Regions from separate parts of the Homo sapiens genome. Here all the other regions are linked to region 2. The links are contacts of gene promoters, found by promoter capture Hi-C in human tissues and cell types (Jung and others, 2019). All regions are on one chromosome and are shown on one strand. Each heading gives the region's core, a stretch centred on a gene start or on the middle of the fragment in contact. The rest is flanking DNA. Distances are from core to core; before and after follow the strand shown. Region 1 has its middle 6.5 kb from the start of MIDEAS-AS1. Region 2 holds the start of PAPLN (papilin, proteoglycan like sulfated glycoprotein). Region 3 holds the start of ENTPD5 (ectonucleoside triphosphate diphosphohydrolase 5 (inactive)).

Region 1 (4,805 bases), core at 780-3,279, 540 kb before region 2:
TGGGCCCTGTGCTGAGGAAAACCTTGAGTCCTGGTCTAAGAATTTTCACTTTCTCTTTTGGGCCATGACTTTGATCATATCCCCTGTTCAGCAAATTAAATGAGCCTTTGGGTGAATAAATACTACAATTCTTCAACTAAACTGGAAGCCCTGTTTTATATATCTTTGTATCCCCAGGTCTGGTGCCCCACTCATAGCAAGTCTCAATAAATGTTTTGTGATGCTGATACAAAGAGCAGTGGCCATCAGATTTCGTCCACTTGGACACCCAAGCCAAGCACCAAAGGCCGTGGTTCCTGGTCTCAATTCTGAGCATTAAGCCAAGCCTGCCTCCTCTGCCTGTTAGCTGCCCTCAGGCTCCTCCTGGCTTTGCACCTCATTGTTTTGCTCCATTTCCAGCATCTCTTTCCTGACTGTCAGTATCTTCCCAGCTTTGGCCCTGGCTCCTTTTGTCCCAGTCAGCCTGCCCTGTGATGCCCTACACCTCTGCTCTGGCTCTGAGGTGAGATAGTTTGTTACTTGGGTTGGCCTGACCTTCTGAGGAACCAATCTGATAGAAGGAGGTAGGACCAACTTGCAGGCAAGACTTGTGAAGACAGCCAGGTGCGGTGGCTTATGCCAATAATCCCAGCACTTTGGGAGGCTGAGGCGGAAGGATCACTTGAGCCTAGAAGTTCAAGACCAGCCTAGGCAATGTGGCAAGACCCCTTCTCTGTAAAAAAATGCAAAAAATTAGTCAGGCACGGTGGCACGTGCCTGTAGTCCCAGTTACTTGGGAGGCTGAGGTAGGAGGATTGCATGCCACTGCACTCCAGCTTGGGTGACAGAGATTCTCTCTCTCTCTTCATATATCTATATATATATATAGACTGTGAGGAGGGCAAAGTGAGGCTTCCTGGTTGGCCGCATGCTTGTTTTGCCCAAATAGGTGTTGAACTTACAAAACCAGGCTAAACTATAAAACTGAGTTTTGGGGAGATCCTGGCTGAACCCTAGCATTGGACTTGGCTAGGAGGACTGTGTTGCCTTTAGCCAGTCCTCATGCTGTTAATCACAACCTTGCCTCATAAGCCAGATTCTTTCTTTTTTGAAAAATAATTCACATACTATAAAATGCACGTATAAGCTAGATTCTTTTAACGTTTTGTTTTATTTAAAAATAGAATCTGGTAGATTCCTGTTTTTTACTCTACCCAGGCTGGAGTGAAGTGGTGTGATCTTGGCTCACTGCAACCTCCGCACCCCAGGTTCAAGCGATTCTCCTGCCTCAGCTTCCTGAGTAGCTGGGATTATGGATGTCTGCCACCACGCCCGTCTAATTTTTGTGTTTTTAGTAAAGACAAGGTTTCCCCATGTTGGCCAGGCTGGTCTTGAACCCTTGACTTCGGGTGATCCACCCGCCTTGGCCTCCCTAACCTCAAAAAGTGTTGAGATTACAGGCGTGCGCCACCGTGTCTGGCCTGAAGTCAGTTTTTTTTTTTTTTTTTTTTTTGAGACAGAGTTTCGCTCTTGTTGCCCAGGCTGGAGTGCAATGGCACGATCTTGGCTCACCATAATCTCTGCCTGCCGGGTTCAAGTGATTCTACTACCTCGGCCTCCCGAGTAGCTGGGATTACAGGCATGCGCCACCACACCTGGCTAATTTTGTATTTTTAGTAGAGACAGGGTTTCTCCATGTTGGTCAGGCTGGTCTCGAACTCCCAACTTCAGGTGATCTGCCCTCCTCCGCCTCCCAAAGTGCTGGGATTACAGGCATGAGCCACCGCGGCTGGCCTGAAGTCAGTTTTAATTGAAAGTTCTTAATAAACATAAAAGGGTGAAACTGGGATTTACATATTTCTGAAAAGTTATGTATAAACTGAGTTTAATAAATCAACATTTTTTCAGATGTGCTATTTTACAAAATAATCAACTTTTAGAATTGGATAGGATCTTACGGACTGTTATCATCCAGCCCCAGTTTTATAGTAACTGTAGTAACAGCATCTCCGATAATCCCATGGTTAAGGATTTAAAGCTTGGAAGGAAACCTGTGCTAACTCTCATTTTAACTGAGGCTTAGAGAGGATAAGTTCCTTCTCCAAGTTCCCACAGCTGTTGAATGGAAGAGTCAGGCACAAACCCCATTCTCCATTTCCACTGGCCATCCTGCATTGATAATTAGTCATCATAATCGTCAGTTTCAGCAGGTCTATTTGTAAACCAAGGACTCCATCTTCTCAGTTTCCCTAAGGCAGTACTCAAAGATTTAAAAAGGTGAAACTTAACAACAACAACAACAACAAAAAAACAAAAAAAACTAGGGGTGAAGAAGAGGTCTTTAAGAAGAGAGTGGGATGCGTATTTAATAGCTTTTACCATTGTATTATCTCATTGTAGTCTTAGTGGATCTTAATTGCTATCAAAGCCCCCAAAGTTTCCTACCCAGGCTCAGTTGGCCAACAAGATTACTTACTGTTTTCTAAGTGCAGAACATGGGTTAAACAACACCAAGAAGACAGAGGAATGCTCCCAGTTCCCAAGACACAGGCAGGAGAAGGCCCAGGAACACAGGCATGGCACTCTTTGAACAGCCAGTTAATGCAGGGCCAACTGTCCTCACCGGCCATTTGTGGAACAGCTGCAGTGCTGTCAACCATGTGAGTGTGGAAAGCAGAGTGCCACATGCTCCTTACCCCCAGGAGGCTTCAAGCCTAGCTCCTGAGATAGGTCATACCCATGCATGAGTGAGTGAAAGAATGAAGAACCCGAGGAATAGTCCCTTATAAACCATGACGGGGAAGGTCACTACTGTTACGGCTATGGCCACTTTTCTTTTTCTCCATAACTGGGGAAGTCAGATCCTAAATGCTTGTGGTCAGCACAGCTTCCATGGAGAGATGGTGGAAGAAATCCTGACCCTTTCCATCACCTCTAGAGCAAGTGGAAGAGGGTGGGATGGGGGAAGAACTGAGAGTGGATCTGTCACTGGGAGAGTATAATTTGATGGAGTGGCGTTTTCTGAGGTTCAGATTCTAAAGTCAGTGTGTAATATGAAATATAAAAATATAATCGGCCGGGCGCGGTGGCTCACGCCTGTAATCGCAGCACTTTGGGAGGCCGAGGCTGGTGGATCATGAGGTCGGGAGATGGAGACCATCCTGGCTAACACGGTGAAACCCCATCTCTACTAAAAAATACAAAAAAATTAGCTGGGCGTGGTGGCAGGCACCTGTAGTCCCAGCTACTCGGGAGGCTGAGTCGGGAGAATGGTGTGAACCCGGGAGGAGGAGCTTGCAGTGAGCTGAGATGGTGCCACTGCACTCCAGCCTGGGCAACAGAGCAAGACTCTGTCTCAAAAAAAAATAATAGGCCGGGCGCGGTGGCTCACGCCTGTAATCCCAGCACTTTGGAAGGCCGAGGCGGGTGGATCATGAGGTCAGGAGATCGAGACCATCCTGGCTAACAAGGTGAAACCCCGTCTCTACTAAAAATACAAAAAATTAGCCGGGCGCGGTGGCGGGCGCCTGTAGTCCCAGCTACTCGGGAGGCTGAGGCAGGAGAATGGCGTGAACCCGGGAAGCGGAGCTTGCAGTGAGCCGAGATTGCGCCACTGCAGTCCGCAGTCCAGCCTGGGCGACAGAGCGAGACTCCGTCTCAAAAAAAAAAAAAAATAATAATAATAATAATAAACAAATTAAAAAAAAATAAAAGAATGTAATCAAGATTAACCTTGATTATATATTAGGAGGGCACCAGGTAGGCAACAGACACACTGGCTCTTGATGCGTCAATTCACCTTAGCCTGCTCCTTTAGTTCTGGAAGAAGTTGCACTTTTTTTTTTTTTTTTTTGAGATGGAATCGTGCTCTGTCGTCCAGGCTGGAGTGCAGTGGTGCAATCTAGGCTCACTGCAACCTCCGTCTCCCGGGTTCAAGTGATTCTCCTCCCTCACCCTCCTGAGTAGCTGGGACTACAGGCACCCGCCACCACACCCGGCTAATTTTTTAATTGTTTTATTTTTAGTAGACACAGGGTTTCACCATGTTGGCCAGGCTGGTCTCGAACTCCTAACCTCAAGTACTCCACCTGCCTCAGCCTCCCAAAGAGCTGGGATTACAGGCATGCGCCAACCATGCCCGGCTATTTCTTCTTGTTCTATTTTGTTTTTTTGTTTGTTTGTTTTCCTTTTCCTCCTACCTCCCTAACTTCCTCCTTCCTCCTGTCTTCCTTTGTCTTCTGTCTTCTGCTAAGCTTGACCATTTGAATTTGCATAAGTTAAATGAACATGTGAACAGATTCCATTGTCCTGTGTCTCATGAGAAGGTCATGGGTGCTGTAAGTTAGGAAATCATCATATGAGATTAAGCATGAAAGGCTCTTAGACTAAATGGGCAGAGTGCGATGGAGAGGAGATCCATGGAGTAGGTTTTAAACTGCAGTTATATCATCCAGGATTGCAGATGAAAAACTTGTGCTTGGGTTGACCCAGCCCTGGTGTGGGGCTGGGAGAGGGCAGTGCCCATGTGCAGCAGACACTTTACAGTAAGGGCCTAGCCCTCCATGTCCCCTCCTCAGCCTCCCCATTGCAGGCCACTATAAGAAGCTTGCAAGGAATCGACCAGCAAGATGTGTCTGCTTCCTCTGTGGCCTCCCCATAGCACATGCTCTGGAACAACTTAGAAGCCAATAGCCACTCGGTGACCCCCTCTTCCACTTGCACTAGAGGTGGTGGAAAGGCTCAACAAGATTTCTTCTACCATCTCTCCAAGGAGGCTGTGCTGACACGTGGCATTTAGGATCTGACTTCTCCAGTTATGGAGGAAA
Region 2 (4,847 bases), core at 642-3,141:
CATCAGATGTTTAAAAACTCCTAATATAGGCTTTAAAAAAATCAAGTCTCTGAAGACACTTTGAAAACCCAAATGCTCTAAAAGTGTTAATTGTAGCCCATTTAAAACCCAAGCCAGCATTTCTCTGCACAGGGAAGCTCCATAAGCAGCCTCCATAACCAACGTGTGTATGCAGTGCAGTGTGCGCCGTGCAGTGTGCGTGGTGCAGCGTGTGAGCCCTGAAAGTGCAGTGCAGTGTGCAGTACAGTGTAGTGTGCTCAGGGCAGTGTGCAGTGCAGTGTGTGTGGAGTGTCTGTGGTTTGATGTGTGCATGCATGCAAAGTGCATGTGCAGTGTGCGGGGCGGGTCCATGTGCAGTCTGGTGTGTACTATTTGGTGCAGGTGTCCAGTCGGTATACACGCTGTGCAGTGTGTATGTGTACATACATGTCGCTGTATCGCAGAATGACATAAACAATGTGCGCCCTTCAGTACAAAACATTAAACAAGTACTAGCGTGCAGGTTTGAACTTTAAAATCTGTAATTCTACCAATGTTCTAATTTTTTAAAGATATAAAATGACTTCTGCTTACAAGGATAAAAGACAGCATACAGAAGCCAAGCTCAGCAGAAATGTAACCTGGCATACTGAACAATGTACACACTCGTTAATTTGGCACAGTGAGTCATTGAGTCATTATTTTCGTGGTCAAGTTCGAGATTCCTGGGGTTGGAGGGTGAGGGAAGGGGGTTGCTGCCAGAGCCCTGCCTCTGCTCTGCTGGGGGCAGCTCCCAGAGCAGGAGCCCCCTGCTAGGGCCAGGCTAGGCCTGCTAGGGCGGGCGAGGCTGAGGAAAAGACGGGTGAAAGAAGAATTTTACTTGTAATTACTCAGAACACCACCGCCTCCGCTGCAATTTCACTGAACTCCAAGCCCATATCTGCCATTCCGAAGTCTGAAAAGTTCAGTTTTTTCGGTTCATTTGGTGGCAAACAACCCCTTCAACTCCAAGGCCAGTCCGGGTCTGGTCACGGGGCTACTCCGAGGGCCGTGGAAGCTCGACCTCTCCTGCCGCCCGAGGGCAGGGACCGGGTGGCCCCGGGCACGCAGGGTGGGCGCCCTCAACGTGTTGTTCCCGGGGAACGCGTCTGCCTTGAGCTAGGGCCGAAGGCGGCGACCCTAGGCGCCAGAGGGCGGGAAGGCGGGTGGCCGCCGACCAAGCCTCCCCCTACAGGGTCCCCAGCCGACTCCGGGACCGCCGCAGTCCGCAGACGCCCGTCCCCGTGGCCCCCGCCCACGGCCCCCCTCTGCATCGGTCCAGCCCTGACCAGGCACCCCGCGTCCCCACCCCAGGAACGCGCCGCGCACCCCCGAGGCGGAGAGGCGCGGTTCCCACGGGAGGCCCGGGGTGGCCGCGCAGGTGCCGGCAGCCGCTGGGGCTCCCGGACGCTCCAGGCCCGCGGCCCAGTGGCACCTCCCGGGAGGGGCGCACGGTCTCCAGGGCCTCGCTTGTACCACGCGCCGGGAGCGGCATTCGCCTGAAGGGAAGGTCCGAGCGGGCGGAGGGTGCGCGCCGGGGCCGTCCCGCACCAGCTCCCCGGCTCTCTGCATTTCCTTTCCTCCAGGCCGGGGGGCGCGCGGTGCCGAGCGATGACCCTGCGCCCACCTCCGGAGAGCGAGCCGGGGCGGGGTCTTCTCTGCGGCCCCCACTTTCTCCGACACCCCCGTCGCCGTGAGCCAGGCGAGCAAATTCCTGCAGAAGCCCCGGGGTGCGGGGTCCCCGCCGCTGGGCGCCCGGGGGCTTCCAGTCCCTCCGCCTCCCTACCTGTCTTCGCTGGCGCCGGGAGGCTGCAGCCAGGGCCGCTCCGTCGGTGCCCGCCCAGGCCCAAGCCCGCGAGGTCGGCCGGGCCGCAAGGAACGCCCGCAGGGGTGGGACTTTCTCTCTCCGCCGCTGCCTGGCCTCACCCTCCACCCCGCCCTGTCTCACTTACCCACCTCCAATCCCCGTGGGAGGACAGAGCCCTTCGTAGAGGCCCTCGTGGTGACCGGTGTTGCCCGGGGCCTCCACCCGCTTGGGTCTGTGCCAAGGCTTGGCTCATCCTCCACTCTGGTCACCCCGTCTGTCCTCTCTTGGGTCAGCGCCAGTCACCTCTCCAATCCCATTTCCCCTTGCCCAAGCCTTCTAGCTTTGCCCTATCCGCTCCTCTTCATGCCTATCCTACACACAACACACCTGTGTCCAGCCACCACCTTCTCCACCCCTGGATCCTATTCTTCAGCCGCAACTGAGTTTCTCCGCACACGCTGCTGTTACCCATCTCCCAGCACGTTTTCTCACTCAGAATGCGCTCTCCCAATCCCCTCTACCTCTCAAACCCGTAGTCAGCCCTCAAAACCTTGGTCAAATGTCACTTTCCTTCCTTTCTTCTTTCTTTCCCTCCCTCCCTTCCTCTTTTCTTTCTTTCTACTTTCCTCCCTCACTTTCTTCTTTCTTTCCCTCCCTCCCTTCCTCTTTTCTTTCTTTCTACTTTCCTCCCTCCCTTTCTTCCTCTTTCTTTTCTTTCTTTCTACTTTCCTCCCTCCTTTTCTTTTTTTTTTTTTTAGACGGAGTTTCACTCTTGTTGCCCAGGGTAGAGAGCAATGGCTAGATCTTGGCTCACTGCAACCTCCGCCTCCTGGGTTCAAGCGATTCTCCAGCCTCAGCCTCCCTAGTAGCTGGGATTACAGGCGTCTGTATGATGCCTGGCTAATTTTTGTATTTTTAGTAGAGACAGGTTTTCACCTTGTTGGCCAGACTGGTCTCCAACTCCTGACTTCAGGTGATCCACCCACCTCGGACTCCCAAAGTGCTGGGATTACAGACGTGAGCCACTGCGCCCAGCCTTCTTCTTCTTTTTTTAAATAGAAACAAGGTCTCGCCCAACCTGGTCTCGAACTCCTGAGCTCAAGCAATCTTCCCACCGTGGCCTGCCAAAGTGCCACCGTGCCCAGCATGTCACCTGCTTTTGAAGCCGTCTCCACACCACCCCAGGCCGATGGGGTGCATGTCCTGCTCCCTCGGTTTCTGTCCCTGTTGCTGTGATTTGCTCAGCTGTGAGTCCCGGGGGGCAGGGCCTGCAATGCAGCCCCACCACCTGTGCCAGGGCACTAATTAGCATCAAGGCAGGGGCTCAACGCATGTGATCAACTTCATTTGTTTTCCTGGTTGTCCTTTTTCACAACCAAGACACTCTTTGCCTACCATTCTTTTTTTGAAACTGGAATTCACTCATCTTTAGAAACTGGTCCTGGACACGAGGGAGGTTGGGGGGAAGAAGTTGGGGAGAGGTTGGGGGTGGGGTGGTGGCAAAGGCTGGTCCCCTTCCCCCACGCTGTTCTGCCTTTAGCCCCTTGCTGGCCCTGCCACTTCTCCCTTGGCCTCATTTGGGCAAAGAGAAGTCACCAGCGGGAAGCTCAGCCCCACTTCAGCCCCCTGGCTCCAGCAGCTGCCTGTTTGGACAAAATGCTTATTAGAACATGGCCAGTTTAAATCAGTTTAAATCAGGTGCATTTCTTACCTATCAATGAAGACAGGAGGAGCAGCAGCTGTAGCGGGGCCCCTGGGGAGTTGTGTGAATTCTTAAGCAAAGATAAAGCTTGGCAGAGAAAGGGGAGTGGAATCATGCAGCCTCTCTAAAGAGGAAAAGCGCTTCTTCCATTCAACAAGCCCCACTCCCTGCCCCCACCAGCTGGGACTTTTCTGAGCTTGGTCAAAGGTCCTCTGTTAAGTGGGAGGAAAATGCTTCTCCCGCTGCAGGGTGGGGGAAGCTGAGGCCCAAGGAGCTCACTTTCCTGCTGTGTCCCTGCTTTTCCTATGATCCTTTCTTCTCAGACACCCAGGGCTGTGATTTCTTATGCCTCACGCCAGCTGCAAAGAGGACTCTGAGGTTGGGAGGCAGAACCCACACTCAGTGGTAAGGGACTGTCTTAGACCCACCAGCCAGGCCCTAGCAATTACTGGCTTGGGCAGGAATATTCTCTTTAAGCCTCATTTCTCCTCTGCTTACCTCACAGAGATGTGAACAGAACTGATGCATTAAAATAGGGTGGTTTAGAAAGAAGATTCCAGGAAAAAGTGTAAGACCTTCCTTCCTATTGTCAAGTCCCCTCTGTGCTGGCTCTATGCCACTCAGTGTCTGCACCTGAGACGCCCTCGCATTGGGGGTTTGGGGTAGCCTGGGGCGGAGGCAGACCTGGACTGGAAGGCTGCTCTGCTTCTCACTGTGTGTGTACTTGGGCAGGTCGGGTCACCTCCTTAAGCCACAACTTGCTCACTTGAGACTCATACAGCAGGTGGTAGAGTAGGGAAGTAACTGGTTTCCATAAAATTCCTACTAGATGCAGAATAAAAGTTAGTTCTGATCTGGGCGCAGTGGCTCATGCCTGGAGTCCCAATACTTTGAGAGGCTGAGGAGGGAGGATTGCTTAAGTCTAGGAGTTCAAAACTAGCCAGGGCAACACAGTGAGACCCTCCATCTCTACAATTTTTTTTTTAATTAGCCAGGTATGGTGGCAGTTGCCTGCAGTCCAAGATAGGGGTCCTCAATCCCCAGGCCACGGACCGGTACCTGTCCATGGCCTGTTAGGAACGGGCACACAGCAGGAGGTGAGCAAGCATTACTGCCTGAGCCCCGCCACCTGTCAGGTCAGTGGCAGCATTAGATTCCCACGGGAGCATGAACCCTGTTGTGAACTACTCATGCAAGGGACCTAGGGTGTGCATTCCTTAGGAGACTCTGATGCCTGATGATCTGAACAGGATCAGGCTTTAGACTGGAACAGTTTCTTCCCGAAACCATCCCACCCCGCTCCCAGACCTGAAAAAATTC
Region 3 (4,840 bases), core at 62-2,561, 780 kb before region 2:
CCAGAAGGCAGAGGTTGCAGTGAGCTGAGATCGTGCCATTGCACTCCGGCTTGGGCAACAAGAGCAAAACTTGGTGTCAAGAAAAAAAAAAAAGTACTTGATGCAAGAAATTAGACACTCTAATAGGACCACTGATACTCACTGTAGAAACAAAGCCAGGTTTCTCAAACAATGGGTCATGGAAAATCCAAGGAATAAGGTCTCTTACCCTTAGTGTTCCTCATTGTTCAAATGTGTACTGTAGAAGCATGGTCAAAATCTGAAAACATATGTTAGTGAGTTCTAGGAATGTGATAAGCCCTTGGCACTTTAAGGGCTAGACTAACTGTGCAGTTATGTAAAAACAAAAAAAAAATACCATAAAAGAATACTTACATTAACAAATGGGAAGAAAAAAGCCACATATAAGTATGTACATTGGGCTATCGTTTTATTAAAAAAGAATACTCCAAAATATAGTAGTGTTTATTTTTGGATAATGAGACTACAGGTGATTTTTGTTTTTTCTTTTGGTACTTCCCATGTTTCCCAAACTTTCTGTATTGAGCATGAATTACTCTCTTAAGTTACTTTACAAACATCTCAAGTTTGGTGCCAACTCTGTGTTCCCATATATGGTGTTGTTGCTGGACACCACGTATGACTCCAACGTGTCCAGAAACCACCGGGGTCCCCCAATAGGGCTAGTAGCAATCTAGCAGCAACTCCAGGCCTGTAAGGGGTTAGTGCTAGAACATTACCCACCTCAGTGGCTCTGATCAGTTTGGGAAAACCTCAATAATTATCCAACTTGGTAAAATACTTTAGGTGTCCCCTTTGAACCAAAAGAGATCTCTGAAAAGGCCCAAGGAACTACTTTATACATCCTCTACACGTTTAAGATAATCTGAACACATAGTAGAGATCTGCCAGACTATGGACATGGGAGCTGTAATCCTCACAAGCCGGGAGAGCCGGGGAGAGGGTCCGAGTGGGCCGGCGCGGGGGGCGCCAGGTTGCCAGCCCCAGACCCGAAATCCCAGGCAGGCCCAGGGAGAGGGGACTCTCGGGTGGCTTCTCCTTACTTCGTGTCTTTGCCTTTGCTCTTGCCTTTCTTTTTGTCCTTTCCCTTCGACGGCATCTTGGCTTCCCCAGGGGCTCCGCTGTCGTAGTTGCCCAGCCGCGGCCGCCCTGGCCAGCTCTGTCTCCAAGGGAACCGGGACGCCGAGCTGGCAATGCCCCACCCGCGCCGCTGACGGCGCGCGGAGAGCGCACGCGCCCGTGACGTAGCCCAGGCGCCGCGGCGCGCGGGGTGGGGCGGAGGTCGCGCCGAGGGCGGCGGGCTGCCGCGCAAGGGTGGCGCGCGCGCGGTGAGTGTGCGAGTGTCGGCGGCGCCGGATCCTCTACGTGGGGCCCGGGCTCTGCGGGCGGGAGGCGGGAGCTGGCAGCCCCAGGCGGTAGCGCTTCGTCCTGCGGCCTGGGTGTGTCAGGAGTCGCTGCGGTCGGGGCGCCCTTGCCTCAGGAGACTTAGATCCCCGCTGATCCGCCCGTCCCGCCGCAGTGGTCTGAGCCGCAGCCCTTTCCCGTGCCGCCCGCGGGTCCCGTTCCTCCCGTGTCTCCATGCCGCAGCCAGCGTGGCCGCGGCTACCTTGCCCTCGCCCCCGCTCCGCTTCTGCCGCTCCCGGCACTGCCTTACTCCTTTGGGTTGCATCTCTTTCCTGGCTTTTCACCCTTGCTGATTCTGTAAGGGATAGTGCAGCCAGCGGACGTCCCAGGCCAAATGTTTTTTGATAGGCAGTCGAGGACTTTCCCGAGGGCGGTGGTTGAGGGCGAGGCTGCCAGCCTCCGAAGAGCAGCGGCACGCCAGGGAGCCGGGCGGGGAGGGGAGTGCTGCCACCGAGGTCGGGAGCAGGGTCCTCGGCCTCACTAGGTCCTGTGTGGCCGATACTTCCTGCCCACGACCGCCCCCCGGATTTCCATTTGCTAATACCGGTCCGCAGCCTTCTTTCCTGAAAGTTGCATAAAGTTGGAAGCTCTTCAACTTGCCTCCCCGACTCCTGAAATCCCGAATACACCTCTGAAAAGGAGTGTACTCACAAGTATTCTCATTTTTCAATGAGAGTCAGTCAGTGAGTCATTAAGGAAGGTACGGTATTCTGAGTGCCAAGCCAATAGTTAGGAGACTTGTGGTTGAAGCTCTGCTCTGTTATACTCCATTTCAAATTAAAAAGTTTATTTTAAATGTGGTTGTAGATCCTTCGTCACCATTTCTCTAGGGAGGACTTAATCCGTACACTCCTTCCCGATGTCTTTGACCTCTAATTACTCCCCTCCGCCTTGTTTCCCACTTGCATAGTTTCTGTTTCTGAATTTCTGTTTCTTCTGAGGGAACATGCCGATTTGGTAATGATAAGCCTTGTAAACTTTTTTTTTTTTTTTTCTGAGAGAGAGTCTTCTGTCACCCAGGCTGGAGTGCAGTGGGGCATCTCGGCTCCCTGCAACCTCCACCTCCTTGGTTCAAGCGATTCTCCTGCCTCAGCCTCCCCAGTAAGTGGGACTACAGGTGCATGCCACCACACCCGGCTAATTTTTGTATTTTTGGTAGAGATGGAGTTTCACCATGCTGGCCAGGCTGGTCTCGAACTCCTGGCCTCAGGTGATCCACCTGCCTCGGCCTCCCAAAGTGTTGAGATTACAGGCGTGGGCCACCGCCCCGGCTGTAAACCTTTTTTTTGAGACAAGAGTTTTGCTCTTGTTGCCTAGGCTGGAGTGCAATGGCGCAATCTCGGCTCACCACAACCTCTGCCTCCCGGGTTCAAGCAATTCTCCTGCCTCAGCCTCCCCAGTAACAGACTATAGGTGCGTGCCACCATGCCAGGCTAATTTTTGTATTTTTGGTAGAGACAGAGTTTCACCATGCTAGCCAGGCTGGTCTTGAACTCCTGGCCTCAGGTGATCCACCCGCCTTGGTCTCCCAAAGTGTTGAGATTTACAGGCATGAGCCACCGCCCCCGGCTGTAAAATTTTTTTTTTTTTTTTTTGAGACAGAGTTTTGCTCTTGTTGCCCAGGCTGGAGTGCAATGGCACGATCTCGGCTCACCGCAACCTCCACCTCCCAGTTCAAGCGATTCTCCTGCCTCAGCCTCCCGAGTAGCTGGGATTACAGGCACACACCACCATCCCTGGCTAATTTTGTATTTTTAGTAGAGACAGGGTTTCTCCATGTTGGTCAGGCTGGCGTAAACCTTATTATACATACCATCTGCCAGCATGATCATGGCTTTTTCTTTTCTTTTTTTTTGAGATGGAGTTTCGCTCTTGTTTCCCAGGCTGGAGTGCAATAGCACGATCTCGGCCCACCGCAGCCTCCACCTCCCAGGTTCAAGCAATTCTCCTGCCTCAGCCTCCCGAGTAGCTGGGAATCCAGGCATGCGCCACCATGCCCGGCTACTTTTGTAATTTTAGTAGACACGGGGTTTCTCCATTTTGGTCAGGCTAGTCTCGAACTTCCAACCTCAGGTGATCCGCCCGCCTCGGCCTACCAAAGTACTGGGATTACAGGCGTGAGCCACCACGCCTGGCCGATCATAGCTTTTTCTGAGTGTATTTCTGGTATACTTTCACACTCCCGTGAGTCCATAGGCGGAATCGCCATATATTGAAGAGTTTATCTCTGATGTAAAATCTATAAAGTTACCATTAATTTTGTATGTGTAAGGTTCTGAAAAAGCACACTGTTGATAAGCTGCAGAAAAGAGAGTAGGGCATCTTCTGTCACAGGCTGTATATTTGGAATTTATTCTAGAAATTGGTAACTTTATAATATGAAAGTCAGTCCAAGACTCCTCATTTGAACATAGGCTTACAGATTAATGTATGAACATAAAAATTTGACTATAACAAGATTATTAATGTATGCGTAGTACCTTAGTTATAGTACTTTATAGTTTCTTTTATTGGTTTTTGGGTTTTTTGATGGTTTTTTTGAGATAGGGTCTTACTCTTAACCATGCTGGAGTACAGTGGCAGGATCATGGCTCATTACAGCTTCGACCTCCTGGACTTAAGTGATCCTCCCACCTCAGCCTCTGGCATAGCTGGGACTGTAGGCATGCACCACCATGCCTGGCTAATTTTGTATTTTTTGTAGAGACAGGGTTTTGCCATGTTGCCTAGGCTGGTCTTGAACTCCTGAGCTCAGGTGATCCTCCTGCCTTGGCCTCCCAAAGTGCTGGGATTACAGGCATGAGTCGCCACACTTGGCCTAGTTTATTTTATTGTATTATATATATTTTTTATTGACTAAGTTTGATTTTGTAGATAAAGCTGTTGTGACATGAATATGGCTCAGGGAAATGCCAAGATTTCATACTCTGGTAGAGGTGGATATAGAGTCTACATTCTTCTGAATCCCCTCATTTTCTACCAAAGAACTGGATGTTGTTACTGTCATCTGCTGGTGAGCAACAACTGATAGTACAGATAGTAGAGTAGGAAGTTGCTATTTAGTAGTTTATCTGGTAGCATTTCCTTCCACAGTTACTGGTAGGTGCCTTTACTATGAAGTTCCAGGAATTATTACTAAATAAATTTTCCTTGTTTCATTGTTTAGAACACTAATGCTTTTAAACTTGGAATAAGCCACTTCATGTTTTGTTGACTTGGTTTTGTAATTCTTTTTCTGTCCAGTTTTCCTTGTTCCTGGTCAACAAAGAAATGTGGAGTGTCTTGGCTGAATCCTCATACAGACAAGATCATTATGGTGCTGTTAGGTAGGACTTGTATCCAGATGTAAGGTAATATCTCCACTAGCTTAAATTTATAAATGTATTTCAAATGTTCCTGAATGGTGGTTTTCTTT

What was found. The method cuts DNA at HindIII sites, captures the fragments that hold promoters and counts their contacts. A contact is called where the count stands out against the background at its distance.
Region 1: a fragment that was not itself captured here is called in contact with the fragment with the promoter of PAPLN in region 2 in 1 of the 25 tissues and cell types used here (dorsolateral prefrontal cortex).
Region 3: a contact is called between the fragment with the promoter of ENTPD5 here and the fragment with the promoter of PAPLN in region 2, in 2 of the 25 tissues and cell types used here (mesendoderm cells and spleen).

Annotation. Positions count from the first base shown.
Region 1 is chr14:73,778,422-73,783,226 of GRCh38, reverse strand. It overlaps a transcript of MIDEAS not described here. Among named protein-coding and RNA genes, the nearest start is that of MIDEAS-AS1, 6.5 kb to the left of the region's middle. The HindIII fragment of the contact is 5,805 bases long and covers 1-4,805 here.
Region 2 is chr14:73,234,550-73,239,396 of GRCh38, reverse strand. PAPLN (papilin, proteoglycan like sulfated glycoprotein) reads right to left here and starts at 1,891. Exons shown (of 27, transcript NM_001365906.3): 1 at 1,805-1,891. RefSeq lists enhancers at 1,330-1,900, 2,474-3,045, 3,046-3,618 and a silencer at 2,962-3,256. The HindIII fragment of the contact is 14,518 bases long and covers 1-4,847 here.
Region 3 is chr14:74,015,759-74,020,598 of GRCh38, reverse strand. ENTPD5 (ectonucleoside triphosphate diphosphohydrolase 5 (inactive)) reads left to right here and starts at 1,311. Exons shown (of 16, transcript NM_001249.5): 1 at 1,311-1,349; 2 at 4,669-4,775. BBOF1 (basal body orientation factor 1) reads right to left here and starts at 1,250. Exons shown (of 12, transcript NM_025057.3): 1 at 1,065-1,250. The coding sequence starts at 1,120. RefSeq lists silencers at 1,134-1,383, 1,414-1,483, 1,494-1,633, 1,674-1,743, 1,659-1,953. The HindIII fragment of the contact is 17,677 bases long and covers 1-4,840 here.